Linked DNA regions of Homo sapiens: regions 2, 3, 4, 5, 6 and 7 are each linked to region 1. The links are contacts of gene promoters, found by promoter capture Hi-C in human tissues and cell types (Jung and others, 2019). All regions are on one chromosome and are shown on one strand. Each heading gives the region's core, a stretch centred on a gene start or on the middle of the fragment in contact. The rest is flanking DNA. Distances are from core to core; before and after follow the strand shown.

Region 1 (2,700 bases), core at 7-2,506:
GGGCTCCGCGGCTCAACGGGTCGCCCAGGGGCGCGGGCCCGGCTTCGTCCTCGACGGTGTCCGCCCCGGCCCTGGCTAGGCCGACGGCAGCCGGGTCCGGGTGGGGCTCGGGCTCGGGGCGCGCCCCTCCCATCTCTCCAGGGTCCGCGTCCTCGCTGCCGCCAGGTCCCGCCGAGATCCCCGGTGGCCCCGGCTCCAGCGGCTGCAGCGTCGCCATCGCCGGGCAGACCCCGGCCGACCTCAAAGCGACCGCGCGGTGGGGCCGGCGGGGACTGGGGCTGCGCAGCGCGGCCTGGGGTGGGGGCGGCGGGGCCCCCAGGAGCTCCTGGGAACCGAGGGTCCTGGGGCGGTCCCGCCCCGCACAGCTCCGGGTGAGCTTGGGGAGGGAGACACACTCTCAGCCCACCTCGCCCCGCCCGACAGCGCTCCGAGTCCTGAGTCCCCTCACCCCCATTCTACAGACACGAAGGTGAAGCCAAAGACGGGACGCTCACTTCCTGAGAATTTGCTGCCTGCTGCGTGGACACCACCGACCTATTGTTTACAGCGGTCAGGGACCCGCCCCCCAGACCCCCAGGACCGCGCTTCCGGGGGAGGAGGGTGTCCTCAGCAACGGTGACCCGCACCAAAGCCCTCCTCACCGGGGTCACCGCCACAGCCGGTGCGAGGCCCGCAGGGCGCTGGGGATGCGCGACCGACTCCCGTGAACCTGCTCCTCGCGCGTCAGGGAGAGCTGTGCACCCAACTAGGCTCTGTGAGGACGGACTGAGGTCGGCCTGCAGGCTGCGGCCCCGAAGGCAGGATTTGTGGAGAGATGATTCGCGAGCCTTGGAGGAAGGATGGGCTGTGCGTGCGTGGGTGCGTGCGTGTGTGTGTGTGTGTGTCTGTGACTTTTGTATGTTTATGTGAGACTGCGTACGTGCGCGCGTCTGTGTGTGCGCGCGCGCGTATATGTCTGTGTGTGTGCGTGCGTGTATAATTTCTAAATGGACGTCACCTTACACATCACAAGGTTAAAAAATGACCCCTGGGCTGTGCCAGGCCAAGCACGAAGAGAAAGCCCCGCCTGAAACTGCCTGGAGGCCCCCCGGCTGTCACTCTCGCCACATTCCGTGGAGTATGTGGTTGCAACTTCTGTCACTCAAGGTCTGATGGCGGGGAGATTGGAGCCGTATCCAATCAGCGCACTGGAGTGAAAACTGCCCAATCAGGCACGCAGCCAGAGAGGAGGCGGTGGCTTCCGGGATGTGGCGCGGGTCTTTGCGTCTGGCTACTACCAGACCGCGGGTTAGGGGCTTCATCTCTCTGCGTTCTCAGTTGTGGGAGGCCTTGGTGATTCGGCCACAGCTCAGCCTCCGTCGCTCTGTGACCTGCGGGTATTGGATGATTGGTAGCTAAGACTCCCGAATACTTCAGAAGTGGGGAAATGGTGAGTGTGCGGGGCAGGGCGTCCCAAGGCTGAGGAGGTCTCATCGGAGCTGGCGGGAAATGGCGGCGGGACCGAGTCTGCGAACGGAGTCCCCGCTGCCGCCGCTCAGCCCTGGGGCCTCAGTACCCTCCGGTGAGGGACCTGGGCTCCTGTCGGTCCCCGCACAGCGGCTCTGGCCCAGCCTGCAGCCCTCCTTGTGCAGCTCTGCGCCCGCAGCCCCGCACCTTCCCCAGGCTGTGGGGTGAGGAGTAGCTTATCTGGAAGCCGCCCGCGCGGCGTGCGCGATGCCGGCGTGGGAGGAGCTGTGGGAGAAGCTGTGGTCTGGGGATCCCGTCCCTGCTTTACCCTGTTCGGAATGAGATCGAGGCCCCATCAAAACAGAGTTCATGTGAGCAAATGGGGACTCATTAATGGGACAGCGCCGGCCGTGGCTCGTGGTTTGGGGGCTGCCAGCGGGTCTTGAAGGAAAAGCTTTTGTGAGGTGTGTGAGGAAGCGAAGCAAATCACCCGCCCGCTCCAACTTGCCCACCAGTCTCCTTGCCCTGTGCGCCTCCTCCGCGTGGCTGTTCCTGAGTGGCATCTTTTAGAATACGCTAGTGTGGGCGCGCACAGCGCTTCGCTGAGTTCTGTGAGTAGTTCTGTCATATTATTGAACTTGAGGAGGGTGTGGGCCCCTGGTTTGTAGACAGGTGTTCAGAAATGAAGACGGGTGTCCAGAGGCAGGGACTGGCGTCTGCAGGGGGGCAGCTGCGGGAAGAGCGCTGAGCTTGTGGGGTCTGTGCTGACTCCGGGTGGTGTCGTTAGTGAGTTGTTGGACAGCCCGTTGGGGTCGGAGCATTGACTGGTGTTGAGCAAACTCCTCACGTTTCCTGTCAGAAGAAAGACATGGCTGAGCCTGGGCTGGAGGGAGTCGCAGGTGTCCGCGGGAGACCAGCCGGGTTCTGCACATGCACTGTCCTGCTGCGCACTGTTCTGTTCCTCCAGGTCTCCTCCCGGGGAGAGAGGGCGCTGAGAACTTGGAGGAAAGGAGTTCTGAGAAACATCCCTTCCCTGCACCCTGCTGCCAGCCCCCACCCAATGCTAACCCACTCCTGAGCCCGCCCATTGGGCATTCGCACGGCCACACTTGTCCCAGGACAGGGTTCTACCCTCAGGAATTGTGCCCATGGCAGCTTTGCTCCTAGGTTTTTCTCCCAAGAACACACACAGTGCCCAGAAGACTCCTGGTTCATTTTAACCCCAGATCTGTAGCAGGAATCTGTTTTCTTCAC
Region 2 (2,700 bases), core at 76-2,575, 230 kb before region 1:
TCTAGATACATATGTGAATGGAAAGACGGAGTCAAAGTGCCTGGGAGAAGGAGGTGGGAAAGGAAATATAGGCAGAGAACTTCCTGGGGTTAAGGCATCTGACATTTTTCACGGAGGTTATGCAAGGGAGAGAGAGGAATCAGACGTTAATTTTCAATTAGGTAGAGAAAAACTCAACGGAGAAATAATTAGCATCTGGATGAGTGGCAGGGGAGATTGCTGATTGAGAGGGGCTGGGTTAATGTAAAGACCTCCACGGGAGTGGTTCACCAGCCCACTCAGAGGATAACAGAAGTCCAGGGGTGCCCAAGGAAAGCACAGAAGAGGCCTGAGTTGTGAGGGTCCCTGACAGCTGAGCCTCTAGTGGCCGGGACAAGATGAGGTCCGAATAGTGGGTGAAGAAACTGGACAGTTGGACCCAAGAGGAAAAAGACCAGGAAGCAAAACGGAGCCTACTGTAGGCTACAGAGTGGCAGAGCTGGCACTCATGTGGCTCCTTGGTTAGGCACCCTGCCTTTGGGCACAAGGAGCTCCATTGACAGTGAGGCCACTGTGACTTGGAAGCAGACACTGGTTCACGCTGGTCAGGAGACTGTCTTCCTCTGTGGCCCTGGCTCGCTATTCTCCAAGGTGCTGGTGACCTTGAGCAAGTCATCGTCCCTCCTGTGGGCTTTCAGTTAGGACACAGATTAGTGGAAGAGCGAGAGAGAGACAGAGGTGTTTCTGTGCTTCCATCCTTTCCCTCCCCTGCCTCTTCAGTGCCTGCCTGATAAAGTGGTGCCTGTTGGTCACACTCGCTACTCATTAAGTCACCTTTCCTGGGGGAAATTCCTCGCCTTGGGTATGGGAGGTTCCATTATTAACCCTTTAGGAATTGCAGAGGGTCTAATGAATCTGTGTGTGGCCATTTCAGGACCCCTTCAAACCTACACCTCCAGACCCCTAGATCACCCTGGGTTAATATTGGGACAGGAGGAAGAAGCAATGACAGGAGAGAAAGAAAGGAAGGGAGGAGGCACAAAAGGGGATCGATCTGGGGTTTGGTGATGGCAGAGGGAGAGGGTCACAAAAGATCCTGGAGGTGAGGAGTCAGCCCAGGGAAGAGATTCCAGAGAGAGGGAAGGCTGTGCAGGGGCCCCAGTGACACTGGCCAGAGCAAAGGGCAAGGGGGAGGGAGTGGAAGAGGTGAGAAAGTTAGAAAGGAAGGGAAGGCCCAGATCAAACCTCGAGGCTCCCTTCTCCGCAGACCATTGTGAAGGTTTTCACTATTCAAAGTCCCAGAGGGCTGTGATATTGGTTTCCAACAGCTCAGTTTGGCCCAGTATCTGAGCTCAGAAGAGACTGCAGGGTCCTTGGGCAGAAACAGGGAGACCGATTCTGGCCCCTCACACTGTGTGCCAGGGCTACTGAGACAATGATGCAGGCCTGGGTGGGAGGACCCACACTGATGCTGACTTTGTTCTCTGGATTTTCACGTCTCCAAGGCAGTTTTCTCACCCATCAAATGAGAACACCACCATCTGTTGCAGAGCATCTTTGAGGAAGACACAGTGGCAGAGGACCTGACCCATTCAAGGAAAATATCTTGGGCCCCAAAGTAACTAAGCTAAAGGGAAAATTCAAGCTGGCAATGCTTAGGGCAAACCTGCCTTCCATTCAATTCAAAGTCATCCCTCTGCTCACTGAAATAAATGCATATCTGATTTCCTCCTTTAAAAAGGCTAATCAGAAACTCAAAAGAAGGCAATGGATTGTCTCTCACCTACCTCTGTCCTGGAAACCCCCTCCCCACTTCCAGTTGTCTCGCTTTTGCTTGGAGTTGTCCTACCTTTCTGGACTGAACCAGTGTTCATCTTACATATGTTGATTGATGTCTTATGCCCCTCAAAATGTATAAAACCAAGCTGTGCTCTGACCACCTTGGGCACATGTTGTCAGGACCTCCTGAGGCTGTGTCATAGACATGCCATCCACAACCTTGGCAAAATAAACTTTTTAAATTAACTGTCTCAAATTTCAGGGGTTCAGAGGGAACAGAACGAAGGCAATGGGGGAGCGAAACATTGCCCCATGTTTATGCAGTGCCGCTGTGTGTGGGGCATGTGCAGGTACCTGGGGGGACATAAACAATCCTAAGACTGGGAAAATGCACGACACTTTGGTAAATCTCCAGGCCCAGGAGTCTCAGAATGAAAGGCTTCTAGGAGGCAGAGGTAGGCCTGGAGATTGGGAAAATGGGAAAATATTCAGGGGAAGGTGTGCCAGGTGGATGGACTTGTGTGAGCAAAGAACAGGAAGGTTGAAAGTATAGGGCAGGAGGGGGAGATGGTCAGAAAGTCAATTTGGAGTCAGGTTGGGAAGAGCCCTTGATGCCACGCTCCAGTCTGGAGTTTATTTTGTAGCAGCAAAGCGCTTCTGATGGGTTTAGAATAGAGTACTAAAGCGAAGACATAGAGTCCAGCCAGAAACCCCAAGGGAGGATCCTCACGGCCTCTGGTGAGGAGGGCTTACTCCTCCACAGAGGCCATTGCTCCATCTCCCAGTCCTTCTGACACTCTCTCTTATTCCTGCACCTACAAAGTTTGGGATCCTGCTGTGGCTCACAGTGGAGCCTCCTCCACATCCAGGGCTGGCCTGGGCAGTTTCTTGGCTCCCTCTGCTCCTCTTACTGGCATCAGGTTTCAGAAAGCTTCTGTTTCC
Region 3 (2,700 bases), core at 77-2,576, 160 kb after region 1:
GGAGCTTGCAGTGAGCGGAGATGGTGCCACTGCACTCCAGGCTGGGCGACAGAGCGAGACTCCGTCTCAAAAACAAACCAACAAAAAAAAAACAGGCCGGGCGCGGTGGCTCATGCCTGTAAATCCCAGCACTCTGGGAGGCCGAGGCGGGCGGATCACGAGGTCAGGAGTTCAAGAACAGCCTGACCAACATGGTGAAACCCCGTCTCAACTAAAAATACAAAAATTAGCCGTGCGTGGTGGCACGCACCTGTAATCCCAGCTACTCAGGAGGCTGAGGCAGGAGAATTGCTTGAACCCGGGAGGCAGAGGTTGCAGTGATCTGAGATCACGCCACTGCATTCCAGCCTGGGCGACAGAGTGAGATTTCATCTGAAAAGAAAAAGAAAAAAAAAAAAAAAAAAAAAAAAAGAAGGACATTGGTTCTGTCCAGAAAGGCGGGGGCAACTTGGAACAGGGAGGGGGCTTCCAGGTCACAGGTAGGTGACAGACAAATGGTTGCAGTTTCTGGGTTTCTGATAAGCCTCTCCAAAGGAGGCTATCAATATGCATTTATCTCAGTGAGCAGAGGAATGACTTTGAATAGAATGGGAGGCAGGTTTGTCCTGAGCAGTTCCGAGCTTGTCTTTTCCCTTAGTTTAGTAATTTTGGGGCCCCAAGATTTTCCTTTCAGAAAAAAGAAAATGTGGTATATATACACAATGGAGTACTATTCAGCTCTAATAAAAGAATGAAACCCTATCATTTGCCACAACACGGATAAACCTGAGGATATCATGTAAGCAAAATAAGACACAGAAAGACAAATACCTCATGATCTCACTCATGTGGCATCTTTAAAACGAAGTTAATCATTAAGATATTTACCAGTTGTCTGAGGTATTGGGTTGAATTTTCTTTTTTTTTTTTTTTTTGAGACGCAGTCTCGCTCTGTTGCCAGGCAGAAGTGCAGTGGCGCGATCTCGGCTCACTGCAACCTCCGCCTCCCAGGTTCAAGCGATTCTCCTGCCTCGGCCTCCCGAGTAGCTGGGACGACAGGCACCCGCCATCACGCCCCGCTAATTTTTTGTATTTTTAGTTGAGACGGGGTTTCACCATGTTGGCCAGGATAGTCTCGATCTCCTGACCTCGTGATCCGCCCGCCTCGGCCTCCCAAAGTACTGGGATTAAAGGCGTGAGCCACTGCACCCTGCCTTCCAAATTAAAAACTTTTTAAAACCTCGTACCTCGCCGTGGGCGGCGACCGTCGCGGACTCGCCGGGAAGACGGCCCCACGGAGCCGGGAACACCGCCCGCTGTTCGTATGTCCGAGGTGACGCCCCGCTGTGGCGGGCTGGCGGAAGTGACGCGCTGCTGTGGCGCGCCGGCGGACGTGACGCCACTGTCGCTGCGACGATAAGGCCTGGCGTTATTGCTTAGAGGCGGCTACCTGGAGCCGGAAGCGCGGCTGCAGCAGGGCGAGGCTCCAGGTGGGGTCGGTTCCGCATCCAGCCTAGCGTGTCCACGATGCGGCTGGGCTCCGGGACTTTCGCTACCTGTTGCGTAGCGATCGAGGTGCTAGGGATCGCGGTCTTCCTTCGGGGATTCTTCCCGGCTCCCGTTCGTTCCTCTGCCAGAGCGGAACACGGAGCGGAGCCCCCAGCGCCCGAACCCTCGGCTGGTACGGACCCCTCCCCGGCGTCTCCGCTCCCCTGACCCCACATCCCCTAGAAGACCTTTTTTCTGAGCCTCGCTGCTCGGATTTCTTCTCGGCGCTCCCCGGTGGTCTCTTCCATTATGGTCCCCACCTCAGAAATTTTTTTTAACCGCTCCAGCGTCTCTTTTCTGTATTCTTACAACTTTGTGGCAACCACCTCTACTGGCCCCACTTCGACCTTCCTTCCTGATCACCACAAAGTAAGCTGTGTCCATACCTGGGATCCAGCCTCTCCACTTCTACTCGTCCAGAGCTCCCGCCCCTTTCCTGAGCAGCCTTTGGGTCACTCCCCGTTATAGGCGCCCTTTTTGCCCCCTAGCACACAACAGATAAGACCCCTGCCGATCCCCTCGCGTTTTGGTCTCTTATATTCCTCCAAGATGTTTTCCCTGCCTAGGGGCTAAGGCCTCTCTGCGTTAGGCCTCTTCCTAGGCTTCACCTACCCAGCCATATACAGCAAGTAAAGGCGCCCTGGTTCTGGACCACTTGCACACATCGCCAGCCGCTGACCATGTAAACGCAGTATGTAAACGCCCAGCCATCCCGTAGCTGCAGCTCTGCGTTTTAGGTCAAGCTCCCTAAATGTCCCATTCCAGGACCCTTACGTAGGGATTCTCCTACCCCAGTACTCTTCACCATACTGAGGATAATTCACTGCTTGCTACTGTGGGTCCCTAAGATTACTCCTGTTAACCCCCGTCCTTTCCCCCCAGCACTACCTACCAAGTACAAGTCGCCTCCTTTTGGGTTGGGTTATGTAGATATCGCAGGGTATGTGCTGGAGAAGTAGGTAGAAGCTAGATTGTGAAGGTGCTTGATGCTAAGGAAAGTTTAGAGTTCAATTTCCTTTTTTTTCTTTCAAACACTTAGGAGCCAGTTCTAACTGGACCACGCTGCCACCACCTCTCTTCAGTAAAGTTGTTATTGTTCTGATAGATGCCTTGAGAGATGATTTTGTGTTTGGGTCAAAGGGTGTGAAATTTATGCCCTACACAACTTACCTT
Region 4 (2,700 bases), core at 20-2,519, 250 kb before region 1:
AAACTTTACAAATGTGAAGAATGTGGCAAAGCCTTTACTCGGTCCACAGCCCTGAATGAACATAAGAAAATTCATTCTGGAGAGAAACCCTACAAATGCAAAGAATGTGGCAAAGCCTATAACTTATCCTCAACCCTTACTAAACATAAGAGAATTCATACTGGAGAGAAACCCTTCACATGTGAAGAATGTGGCAAAGCCTTCAATTGGTCCTCATCCCTTACTAAACATAAGATAATTCATACTGGAGAGAAATCCTACAAATGTGAAGAATGTGGCAAAGCTTTTAATCGGCCCTCAACCCTTACTGTACACAAGCGAATTCATACTGGCAAGGAACATAGTTGAATGACATTTCTAGTAATCTCTAATTCCAGTGTCTTTACACAGCAAATAAATTGGAGAATATTGCTCCCATATAAACTTGTATTATTTTTCTTATTTTAAATTTTTTAAAATTTCTGTAGGTACATAGTATGTGTATCTATTCATGGCTTATTTGGATTATTTTGATACAGGCATATGACATGTAATTATCACATCAGAGTAAATGAGTTATTCTTCACAAGCATTTGTTCTTTGTATTACACACAGTCCAGTTATACACTTTAATTTTTTTTTTTTTTTTTTTTTTTGAGACAGAGTCTCGTTCTGTCGCCCAGGCTGGAGCGCAGTGGTGCGATCTTGGCTCACTGCAACCTCCACCTGCTGGGTTCAAGCAATTCTCCTGCCTCAGCCTCATGAGTAGCTGTGACTACCGGCAGGTGCCACCATGCCCAGCTAATTTTTTGTATTTTCAGTAGAGACAGGGTTTCACAATGCTGGCCAGGCTGTTCTCGAACTCCTGAGCTCATGATCCACCCACCTCGGCCTCCCAAAGTGCTGGGATTACGGGTGTGAGCCATCGTACCTGGCCACTTTAATTATTTTTAAATGTGCAATTATTTTTTTACTACAGGTTATTTTATGATTATAATAAGTATATGAGTATAATTATAATTCACACATTTCTAAGTCATGAATGCTTTTAAAAAATGTTCCATATTTATCTTTGAACATGTAGCATCTCTTTCCGCAAATAAATGCAGACTTTGGTTTTGATTTACATGGAGTTAAATATGTAAATGTATTGCTCTAAAGATAAAATTTAGGTGTAAGAAAATTATGGGGCAAGCAGTTGAGTTTCTGTGAGAGTTTGTATCTATTTTCCAAGGAAAATAGCAATATTGGAACAAAGATTATTTTAATAAGGTGGATATTTTACTAGAAATCTAGAAACCTAAAACATTCTGAAATCAAATTTATATTTTCTTCTATTACTGTAAAATTTAACGGATCATTGTTGAGACTCTCCCATGCAAATTCTGTTTTTATTTGTCTGTTACTCATGCTAGAGCTATAATTGACTTCTTTCTTATTTTTTTTATTTTTACTTTATGAAGTATTTATTATGTGAGCTGGTCAGAAATTATAATTTTATAAAATTTAGTAGCAAACACAAAATATTTAGATGCAAGTTCATAATTCGTGTATTAAGTTATATTTTAGTTAGGACATTTCATTTTATTGCTTTAGTTGGATAACCCTATATGAGCCGTTTAGTTATTTGTTTCACTTTTTATAATTGACATAAATGAGTTTATTGTGCCAATTTTTTCAGGTAAGTACTGGTGAAACTTAATAATTCATGGGATGTTTTGATATATAATTATAGTAAGCATAAGAAAGTACTGGGTAATAGATGCTCCATAATTAGCCATAAATATTATTCTTTCTGGAGTGAGTTTGTAGCTCCAAGTAAGAGAATGAAAATGTCTATAGTGAAGAAATGGCAGTCTGCATGTGGAGAGAACATCTGTTACCAGGCTGCAAAACTGACTCATTCTGAATTTAAAGAGAACCTCTGATTTTATTTTCTAATTATCTTTAGTTTTGGAATATCTTTATGGTTTATTCCCAGCTATGTATGCCTCACACCCCTTCTTCTTTGTGTTATGGCTACAGTCTTCTCACTGTTCTCTTTTTGCCATGTAATTTCATACAGACTTTCTATGTTCTGATTAGAAGTTTGAAATTTTTCAGTGTGGTAAATTGTTTTTAACTGGAGTGTTTGAGGTTATTTATAGCTTATCAATGCAATGTTTAGATCACTTAATTGAGATAAGTACTTTACTGTCTGCAGGGGCATTGGTGGAACATGAAGTGAAACACCAGGACCTGGTTCTGGAGTTATGGAGGGCAACTCCAATCCCCAGTGTGGGCCCCAGCCTCTGGCACACTGGTGCATGCCAAAAAGTACTCCTCAGGCCACCACTACTCTAATCAGTGCCCTTGCTACCATCACTGTTGTCATCTGTGCTTGCATTCCCCTGGTGCCTGGAAGTTCTGTTCTCCAGGTGGCAGATGACTGCTCCCGGCATTCACACGTTTTTATTCCATCTGTGGAGGAGTACTTTATAATTCTGACTGTCTTCTAAAAATCATTTCACTTAAGATAGCTCATTTAAATGGGATTATATACTCTTTGTCACTATGTTTCTGGTATATTTCACTAAATATGATGTCTTAAAGTTTTATGCTTATTGTAGCATGTGCATAATTTGCTATCTGAAGGTACAGCCATATTCCATTGCCTACAAATGCCATATGTTATCCATTTATCAAGAAACTTAAGTAGCTGTCACCTTTTTGTGTGTAGGG
Region 5 (2,700 bases), core at 153-2,652, 190 kb before region 1:
TAGTCTCCTTATTTGTCAACGTTTTTTCTTTTTCTCTGTTCATTTGCACTTTAAATATACGGTCTCACTTCTGTGTGGCTTGCATGGTTTCTGCTGAGCAATTTACTGATAACCTTATAGATGTTCCCTTATATGAGAAGAATCTCTTTTTCTTGCTTCTTTTAAGAATCTCCCATTGTCTTTGAATTTTTGGCAGTTTAATTATAATTGTGTCCTGGGCAAGTTTTTTATCAAGTTCTTCTTGCTACTGATATTTTGAGCCTCATAAAACTGAATGTCTGTATTTCTTCCAAGATTGGGAAAATTTTAACACATTATATCTTTAAACAATAAAAAAAAGTTTTCTCTCTTTTGAACCTCCTAAAATATGTACCTTTTTATGGTTTATCATATAGCATGGGTTCCAAATTCTTTATTCACACTTTCATTTTTAAAAAATTTCTAATTAGAAACTTTCAAATGACTTACGTTTGCTGGGGTGTTTTTTTTTTATATAGCTGAGTCTCCTGTTAAAGCTTTCTCTTAAATTTTTCAGTTCTACTATTTTTACTTTGACTCCAGCATATCTATTTGGTTCTTTTTTAATGGTTTCTTTTTCTGTATTGTGATTTTGTTCATGCATTGTTGCAAAAAAATTTAGTAATCTGTGTACTTTTGCATCTTACTGAGTTTTTATTTTTATTTTTTATTTTTCTTGAGACAGAGTCTCACTCTGTTGCTCAGGCTAGAGTGCAGTGGGGTGATCTTGACTCACTGCAACCTTCACACTCCAGATTCAAGCGATTCTTTTGCCTCAGCCTCCCAATTAGCTGTGACTACAGGTGTGCACCACCACACCTGGCTAATTCTTGTATTTTTAGTAGAAAGAGGCTTTCACCATGTTGGTCAGACTGGTGAGATGCTTGAAGATTATCTTGAATTCTCTGTTAGTCATTTTTTAGATCTGTGTTTTATTGTAAGTGGTTACTGGAGCATTTTTAGTTTCCTTTGGTGGTGTTATATTTGCCTGATCCTTCATGATCCATTAAGGATGTCCTTGCGTCTGAAGAAGCAAATGCCTCTTTCAGTTACTATAAACTAGTTTGGGGAGGTAAATATCTTCTTCTGTTGGATCTCTGGACTGATGCGATTTCTGCTGATATTGCAGTTAAGTGCATTGGAGCCAGGTCATGTAACTACTACCGGGCCTGCCATGAAGTTCATGCTTGGCAGACCTGTAATCAGGGCATCAGACAGTTGTGGTTTCGTCTGTTTTCTGAGAACACCAAACTTTCTTCAAGATGTTGATCAATATGACTAGTGCTCAGAAAAAAAAAATCCCAGCACTTTGGGAGGCCAAGGCAGGTGAATTGCCTCAGCTCAGGAGTTCGAGACCAGCCTGGGCAACATGGTGAAACCCCGTCTCTACTAAAATACAAAAAATTAGCCAGTCGTGGCAGTGTGCGCCTGTAGCCCCAGCTACTTGGGAGGCTGAGGCAGGAGAATTGCTTGAACCCGGGAGGTGGAGGTTGCACGGAGCTGAGATCACACCACTGCACTCCATCCAGCCTGGGCGACAGAGCGAGATTCCATCTCCAGGAAAAAAAACCCTCCAATTATATCTGGGGGTGCTGATACAGTAATGTTATCTGGTGTGACTCCTGTGAGGCTTTTGCTGGTTTTTGGAAATGCTCTAATCCAGTCATTGGACAGGTTCCTGGAAGAGCAGGGTTGGTCCTTGATCACAGCTGAAAAGGTGTGGAACTGATTCATAGGGCTGCTTCAGGATACACAGCTAAGACTTCAGCTCTGTTTCTGGGTTCACGGCATTTATGCCTTCAGATTTCTGGGCGGGCAGGACTGCTCCCAGACTCTAGCGGACAGGGAATGGCGCTGGTTACAGGGCTACTTCAAGATTCATAGTGGGAATAAAGTCAGCCAGCATGCCTATAGGTGTGCTTTTTGGCAGGTTTCAGGCTAGGAAAAACTGCCCCTGGACTTTGGTTGCATGGACTCGGAGCCAGGTTATAGTGCCACATCAAAATCCACCATCAGGGCCAGGTGCAGTGACTCACATCTGTAATCCCTGCACTTCGGGAGGCCAAGGTGGGCGGACCACCTGAGGTCAGGAGTTCGAGACCAGCCTGGCCAAATTGGCCAAATCCCATCTCTACTAAAAATACAAAAATTTGCTGGGCATGGTGGCGGGCATCTGTAATCCCGCTTACTCAGGAGACTGAGGCAGCAGAATTGCTTGAACCTGGGAGCTGGAGGTTGCAGTGAGCAAATATCACGCCATTGCACTCTGCAGCCAAGGTGACAGAGTGAGACTCTGTCTCAAAAAAAAAAAAAAAAAAAAAAATCCACCATTGAATAAATATTGGCAGGCCTACATCCAGGGGCACAGATGGATGTTTCTGTGGGTCTCTGTGTGTGCAGGATTTCTTCCACACTATGACTGATCAGGGAAAGGGGTGGGTTTTGGGCTAATTTATAGATCACAGGCAGGACCAACATGTCAAGGCCTTTCACCTGAGACACAGGACATTATGAATTCTCCTAAGTGTCTTGGCAGATGGTGATAGTGGCAGGAACAAAACCAAATGATCTATAGCTATGTTTACAGTGAGAATTATTCATATTTCATTCGGTAGCTGGGACTATGATGGGCAAGCATGCCACTCAAGCAAGTGCATGCCCTCTTAATACAGCCCTCCTCAG
Region 6 (2,700 bases), core at 195-2,694, 250 kb after region 1:
GGGTGTATACTTAGGGAAATTGCCGGTTCATGAGTAACACCTATCTTCAGGTATTACTTTTTGTGCCCTTTTATGCTGAACTACAATTTACGTGCAATACCAATCATTCATATTAAGTGTACAACTCAGTGAGTTTAGACAACTGGACACCTTGTTGTGAGTCACCACCACCGAGATGATCCAGCACTGTCCCAACTCCCCCCAAGTTCTCCTTTGCAGGCACCCTCTCCCTCCATTCTGGGCACAGGCAACCATGAACCACTATCTGTCACCGTAGCTTTAGTATAAAATTTCACATACATGGACTCAGGGAGCATAGAGTCTTTCCTGTCTGGCTTCTTTCCGCTGGCAAAATGCTTGGAGACTTTTCCACGTTGCTGCATGAATCAATGGATCATTTGTTTTCGTGGCTGAGCAGAATTCCACCAACATTTGTTTACTCATCCATGAAATGATGGACATTTGGTGTTTTTCCATTGAGATTGTTATGAATAATGCTGCTATTGTCATTCAAGGACAAGTCTTCTGTGAACATCTGTTTTCACTTCTCTTGGGTACATCCTTAGAAGTGGTATTGCTGGACTGTATCAAAAGTTAATATTTAACTTTCAGGAAACTTACAAACTGTTTTCCAGAGTGGCTGTACCATTTTGCATTCCCAGACCGAAGTGTGAAAGCTCCAGATGCCCCACGCCCTCACCAGCCCACGGTGTTGTCAGCCTTAATAGTGCTGACCATTCTGGTGGGTTTGCAGTGTATCTCATTGTGTTTTAATTTGCATTACCTTGACAACTAATGGCGTTGAGACTTTCATATATCTTTAGTAAAGAGTCCTTCCAAATCCTCTGCCGATTTTTTAAAAATTGGGTTGTCTTCTTGTAATTGAGTTGTAAGAATTCTTTATACGTTCTGAACATGTTATTTATTGGATAAATGTTTCGCAAGTATTTTCTCCCAGTCTTTGACCTACTTTTTCATCTTCTTATCAAGAGCTTTTAAAAAGCAAAACTTTACATTTTGATGACATCCAATTATTACTTTTTTCTTTTATGTTTTTTGTGTATTATTTAGGAAATAATTGTCTGAACCAAGATTACAAATATTTTCTTGTCTTTCAGAAGTTTTGTGGTTTTAGCTCCTAAGTGTACATCTGTGATCCATTTTGAATTAATTTTTGTATATGGTATGATGTAATGGTCAAGGTTTTTATTTTTGCATATGGATATACAGTTGTTCCAGTACCATTTCTTGAAAATAATTACCAGTACCATTAAGTTACCTTGGTACTTTTATTGAAAATCAATTGACTCTCAGTTCTGACCCATCGACTTATATGTCTGTTTTTTTTTGTTTTTTTTTTTTTTTTGAGATGGAGTCTCACTCTGTTGCCCAGGCTGGAGTGCAGTGGTGCTGTCTGGGCTCACTGCAACCTCTGCTCCCAGGTTCAAGCGATTCTCCTACCCCAGCCTCCTGAGTAGCTGGAATTACAGGCATGTGCCACCACACCCAGCTAATTTTTGTATTTTTAGTAGAGACGGAGTTTCACCATGTTGGTTAGGCTGGTCTTGAACTCCTGACCTCGTGATTCACCTGCCTCGGCCTCCCAAAGTGCTGGGATTACAGGCGTGAGCCACCGTGCCTGGCCATGTCTGTTCTTATGCTAACATCACAGTATCTGGATTATTGTAGCTCCATAATGAATGCTGGAATCAGGTAATGTGAGTCCTCCAACATTTTTACTCTTTTTCAAAATAATTTGACTATTTTAGGTCCTTTGCATGTCCATACAGATTTTAGACTCAGCTTGTCAATTTCTACCCAAAAATGTCTGATTGAGATTGTATTGAACCTATATCTTAATTTGGGGATAATTAGTATGTTAGCAATATTGAATCTTCTAACCTACATTTACTTAGTCTTCATTAATTTATCTCATCAATATTTTGTAGTTTTCAGTGCACAGGCTTTGCACACATTTTGTTAAATTTCCCTATAAGGATTTCATATTTTTATATTTTTCATTTTGTAAATGTTAATTTAAAGGAATAAGACACCCTCTTTTTTTTCTTTCTTTTTTTCTGGTTTTTTTGTTTGTTTGTTTGTTTTGTTTTTATAGAGACAAGGTCCCACTATTTTGCCCAGGCTGGTCTCGAACTCCTGGGCTCAAGCAGTCCTCCCACCTCAGCCTCTCAAAGTGCTGGGATTACAGGCAGGAGCCACCACACCTGGCCAGATACCCTCATTAGATTTTTGTGTCTATTCTGATTTCTTTAAAGTAACATTTACTTTAATAAATGTTACTATATAAACATATAGCATTAATATAAAATTGTTTGTTACTGGTACATATAAATACAATTAACTTTTTAGATTGCCCTCTTACCCTGTGACCTTGTTAAATTCACTAATTCTAGCAGCCGCTTTTGTGTATTTGGTAAGATTTTCTACATAGACAATCATGCCACAGGTAAATAGAACCCATTTTACTGCTTCCTTTCCAAGCTGCATGCTTTTTTTTTTTCTTGCTTTATTGCATTGGCTAGGTCCTCATGCATAATAGTGAATAGAAGTAATGAGAGTAAACACCCTTGCCTTGTTTCTTGTCTTAGTGGGAAACCATTTGGTCTTTCACCCTTAAGTATAATGTAAGCTGTAGTTTTTTTGTAGATGCCTTTTATCAGGTTGAAATCTATTTCTGTT
Region 7 (2,700 bases), core at 161-2,660, 190 kb after region 1:
AACAACCAGGGTAATTATCCAGCAGCAATACAGTGATCCTCCCAGTGAGGTCGGTGCTCTGACAGTGACCGTCCCAGTGAGGTCGGTGCTCTGATAGTGACCCTCTCAGTGAGGTCGGTGCTCTGCAGAGGGGTCTTCTGGCTGTTAGGCAGCCTATTTTCACAGAACAGAGAAGCATGTTGTGGAACAGGTATGACCCCAGCTTACTAATTGTGTACCTGTTTTTTTTTTCATACTTATATGAAAGACTACATACTTAAAATACTGGTGATTATATTTAGGACCTGAAATCATAAGATTGTGGTCTTGCTTTTTACTTATTTTTGTATCTTAGCGATGTCTAGAGTTAATAAGTGTTGCTTTTCTAATCACAGCAAGTCAAGGTGACTGCTGAGGGCTGTGGCCAGCCTGAGGGGTGGCCGTGGGGCTCCGGGGGCACCCCTGGAAGTACTTCCTGGCTGAGTGGGGAGTAAGGGGTGGGAGTTAGGGTGACCTGAGGCCTGGCTGAGGCAGTGAGAGTGTAGCAGGCCGTCATACGGGGCCGGGGCCTGGGGCAGAGAGGATGCTGACGTGCAGGTACCAGCGGTGTTCTGTGGAGATGTCTCAAAGGCTGTTGACTTTGGAATCTGAGACTTAGGGCTCATCCAAATGGATGTTACATTTGCGGGTGTGTGTTTAAGGTGCAGCGTATGAATAAATTCATTTCCTCACAGATCTATACACTGAATTTCAGCATCACTCATCTCAAGACCTTGGCCCTCTTCCCTTTCCTGGCCTGCTTCCTGCAGCATGTAATTTGCTAGTGTCCAGAACTAGCCAGTGTGCCTTTTCTTTCCACACGCACTGCCTGGTTCACCTTCTTCCTGTAAAGTGCCTCCGTCCTTTGTCCCCATCTGTCCCGATCGTAAATAGGTCCTGGCTACAGAGGCATCCTGGCTCTAGATCATTGTAACAGCTGCCGCTCTCCTGTCAGTCCCCCGGGCCCTGCCATCCACTGAGAGTCTGAAATCCTTTGCACTCAGTTCCTGACTGTCCTCCACTCAGAAGCCCAGGGATGGCTGGAGTGGAGGTGGAAGCGGGGTGGGCCTGGTTGAGCAGGATCAGACTCTGCCCGGCCAGGGGAGGAGGAGGAGGACCCACCAAAGGCCCTGGATGATGCCCCTCCTGCTCATCACCCTGCCTGCCCTAGCATCCTCTCGACACAGAAACCAGTCCCTTTTCTTCTATGAAACTTCTCCAGTGATTGTGACCTTTGCTGATTTCTCCCTTCTTTGAATGCAGATGGGCCTATAATTCACTCTTAACTTAGCACACACCTTGGCCTGTGGGGGTTGCCAGGTACCTGACCCCAGCTCCTCAGCCAGGATGTGGGCCCCTCCTGGCAGCCACACTGCCAGGCACATGGTATACAGTGCTCAGGCTGTTTGAACTAAACTGATCAAAGTTTACTTTCTTAATGTAAAAGCTTTCTAAGAAAATCTAATATAGGAAAATTCAGTTTTCACAATATTATGATATTAAAAATTACGATTATTTTAAATGATCAGATTTGTAGGCTGTGTGAAGCATTTCATTTACAAAATTTATTTAAAATATTATGTTTTAGGAACATACGTGTTTTGTAAGATGAAATTTTTTGGTAATTGTATCCTTTACAGATAACTATCATAAGAGTACTTAATTTTACTGAGCTTACTGTGTGCCAAGCACTCCCTGCATTCCCTTGCTTAATTCCTAGGATGACTTTGTGAAGTGTAGAACCATTTTCTCTCCATTTCACAAATAGCAAAGCTGAGGGTCAGAAGTCTTGATTGACACGCCCGAGTAGGAGAGCTAGTGAGCAGAGCAGCAGGGCTCGGACTGAGCAGAGCTCTGCCTTTTCTCAGAGCCCGCGGGTTGGATGACTGCACCACTGCACGCGTGTGTGCCTGTGAATGTGCAGGTGCTTATTTACCTATAACTGCATGTATGTGTACCTGTAAATGTGCAAATCCTTCTTTAAATCTGCTCAGTTGTGCAATGAACATTTATGAACTTACAGCAGTTTCTTAGAGTTGACTCTTATACTAGTGCGTTGGGTTTTTTTTAATTAACTGCAAAGCAGGCGGGCCACGAGGGCACCGCTTGGGTCGTGCCACCAGATGAGCCAAATGAGCAAGATCTCCCCGAAGCCAGCCCCAGCGGAAGAGTCTGCACGAGGACACACCTGTGGGCCTGTGGCGGCGGCTCCTCAGGGCTGCTGTGCGGAGGAGACATGCCCACTGCCATGACAGGACCTGGGGGGTAGGGAGGGTGCCGCGGCTCCTTTAGTCAGCAGTGCTGGACATTTACTGGTTCCCTGGGTAGATAGGTGTGTTTTTCATGGGAAAATGTTTTTGAATTTTTCTCACTGGTGCTAATGAATCTAACTTGTTTTGCTCTTTTTTAGGGGTATTATTGAAGCTCGTTTTGTTTATGTCTTTGTCCTTGGCATTCTGTTCACGGGCACCAAAGACTTACTTAAATCTCAAGTCATTGCTGCAGACTTCAAACTCAAGACTGTAGGTTTATGGGAGATATATAGTGGATTAGTTCTTCTGGCAGCCTTGCTCTTTAGACCACATAATCTTCCGGTCTTAGCATTTAGCCTCTTGATTCAGACTCTAATGACTAAATTCATCTGGAAGCCCCTGAGACACGATGCAGCTGAGATTACTGTGA

What was found. Contacts are between HindIII fragments. The study calls those that stand out against the background at their distance.
Region 2: a contact is called between a fragment that was not itself captured here and the fragment with the promoter of ZNF141 in region 1, in 1 of the 25 tissues and cell types used here (dorsolateral prefrontal cortex).
Region 3: the fragment with the promoter of ZNF721 here is called in contact with the fragment with the promoter of ZNF141 in region 1 in 5 of the 25 tissues and cell types used here (adrenal gland, dorsolateral prefrontal cortex, heart right ventricle and 2 more).
Region 4: a fragment that was not itself captured here is called in contact with the fragment with the promoter of ZNF141 in region 1 in 4 of the 25 tissues and cell types used here (dorsolateral prefrontal cortex, lymphoblastoid cells, mesendoderm cells and 1 more).
Region 5: a fragment that was not itself captured here is called in contact with the fragment with the promoter of ZNF141 in region 1 in 2 of the 25 tissues and cell types used here (H1 embryonic stem cells and dorsolateral prefrontal cortex).
Region 6: a contact is called between a fragment that was not itself captured here and the fragment with the promoter of ZNF141 in region 1, in 1 of the 25 tissues and cell types used here (mesendoderm cells).
Region 7: a contact is called between a fragment that was not itself captured here and the fragment with the promoter of ZNF141 in region 1, in 2 of the 25 tissues and cell types used here (H1 embryonic stem cells and dorsolateral prefrontal cortex).

Annotation. Positions count from the first base shown.
Region 1 is chr4:336,558-339,257 of GRCh38, forward strand. It overlaps ZNF141 (zinc finger protein 141), which reads left to right and starts at 1,257. Exons shown (of 4, transcript NM_003441.4): 1 at 1,257-1,429. The coding sequence starts at 1,427. RefSeq lists silencers at 1-26, 257-366 and enhancers at 381-896, 1,002-1,962, 1,007-1,106. The HindIII fragment of the contact is 20,671 bases long and covers 1-2,700 here.
Region 2 is chr4:109,450-112,149 of GRCh38, forward strand. No RefSeq gene overlaps it. Among named protein-coding and RNA genes, the nearest start is that of ZNF718, 14 kb to the right of the region's middle. The HindIII fragment of the contact is 4,168 bases long and covers 1-2,700 here.
Region 3 is chr4:497,830-500,529 of GRCh38, forward strand. ZNF721 (zinc finger protein 721) reads right to left here and starts at 1,327. Exons shown (of 3, transcript NM_133474.4): 1 at 1,227-1,327. It overlaps PIGG (phosphatidylinositol glycan anchor biosynthesis class G (EMM blood group)), which reads left to right and starts at 1,381. Exons shown (of 13, transcript NM_001127178.3): 1 at 1,381-1,660; 2 at 2,567-2,700. The coding sequence starts at 1,507. RefSeq lists enhancers at 613-1,478, 1,042-1,521, 1,479-2,342. The HindIII fragment of the contact is 23,753 bases long and covers 1-2,700 here.
Region 4 is chr4:87,104-89,803 of GRCh38, forward strand. It overlaps ZNF595 (zinc finger protein 595), which reads left to right. Exons shown (of 4, transcript NM_182524.4): 4 at 1-1,105. The coding sequence ends at 348. Among named protein-coding and RNA genes, the nearest start is that of ZNF595, 35 kb to the left of the region's middle. The HindIII fragment of the contact is 4,411 bases long and covers 1-2,700 here.
Region 5 is chr4:146,293-148,992 of GRCh38, forward strand. All of the region lies in intron 3 of ZNF718 (zinc finger protein 718), which reads left to right. Among named protein-coding and RNA genes, the nearest start is that of ZNF718, 23 kb to the left of the region's middle. The HindIII fragment of the contact is 4,844 bases long and covers 1-2,700 here.
Region 6 is chr4:581,489-584,188 of GRCh38, forward strand. All of the region lies in intron 2 of LOC105374338 (a long non-coding RNA gene), which reads left to right. Among named protein-coding and RNA genes, the nearest start is that of TMEM271, 6.5 kb to the left of the region's middle. The HindIII fragment of the contact is 8,335 bases long and covers 1-2,700 here.
Region 7 is chr4:528,008-530,707 of GRCh38, forward strand. PIGG (phosphatidylinositol glycan anchor biosynthesis class G (EMM blood group)) reads left to right here. Exons shown (of 13, transcript NM_001127178.3): 11 at 2,429-2,700. Among named protein-coding and RNA genes, the nearest start is that of PIGG, 30 kb to the left of the region's middle. The HindIII fragment of the contact is 6,945 bases long and covers 1-2,700 here.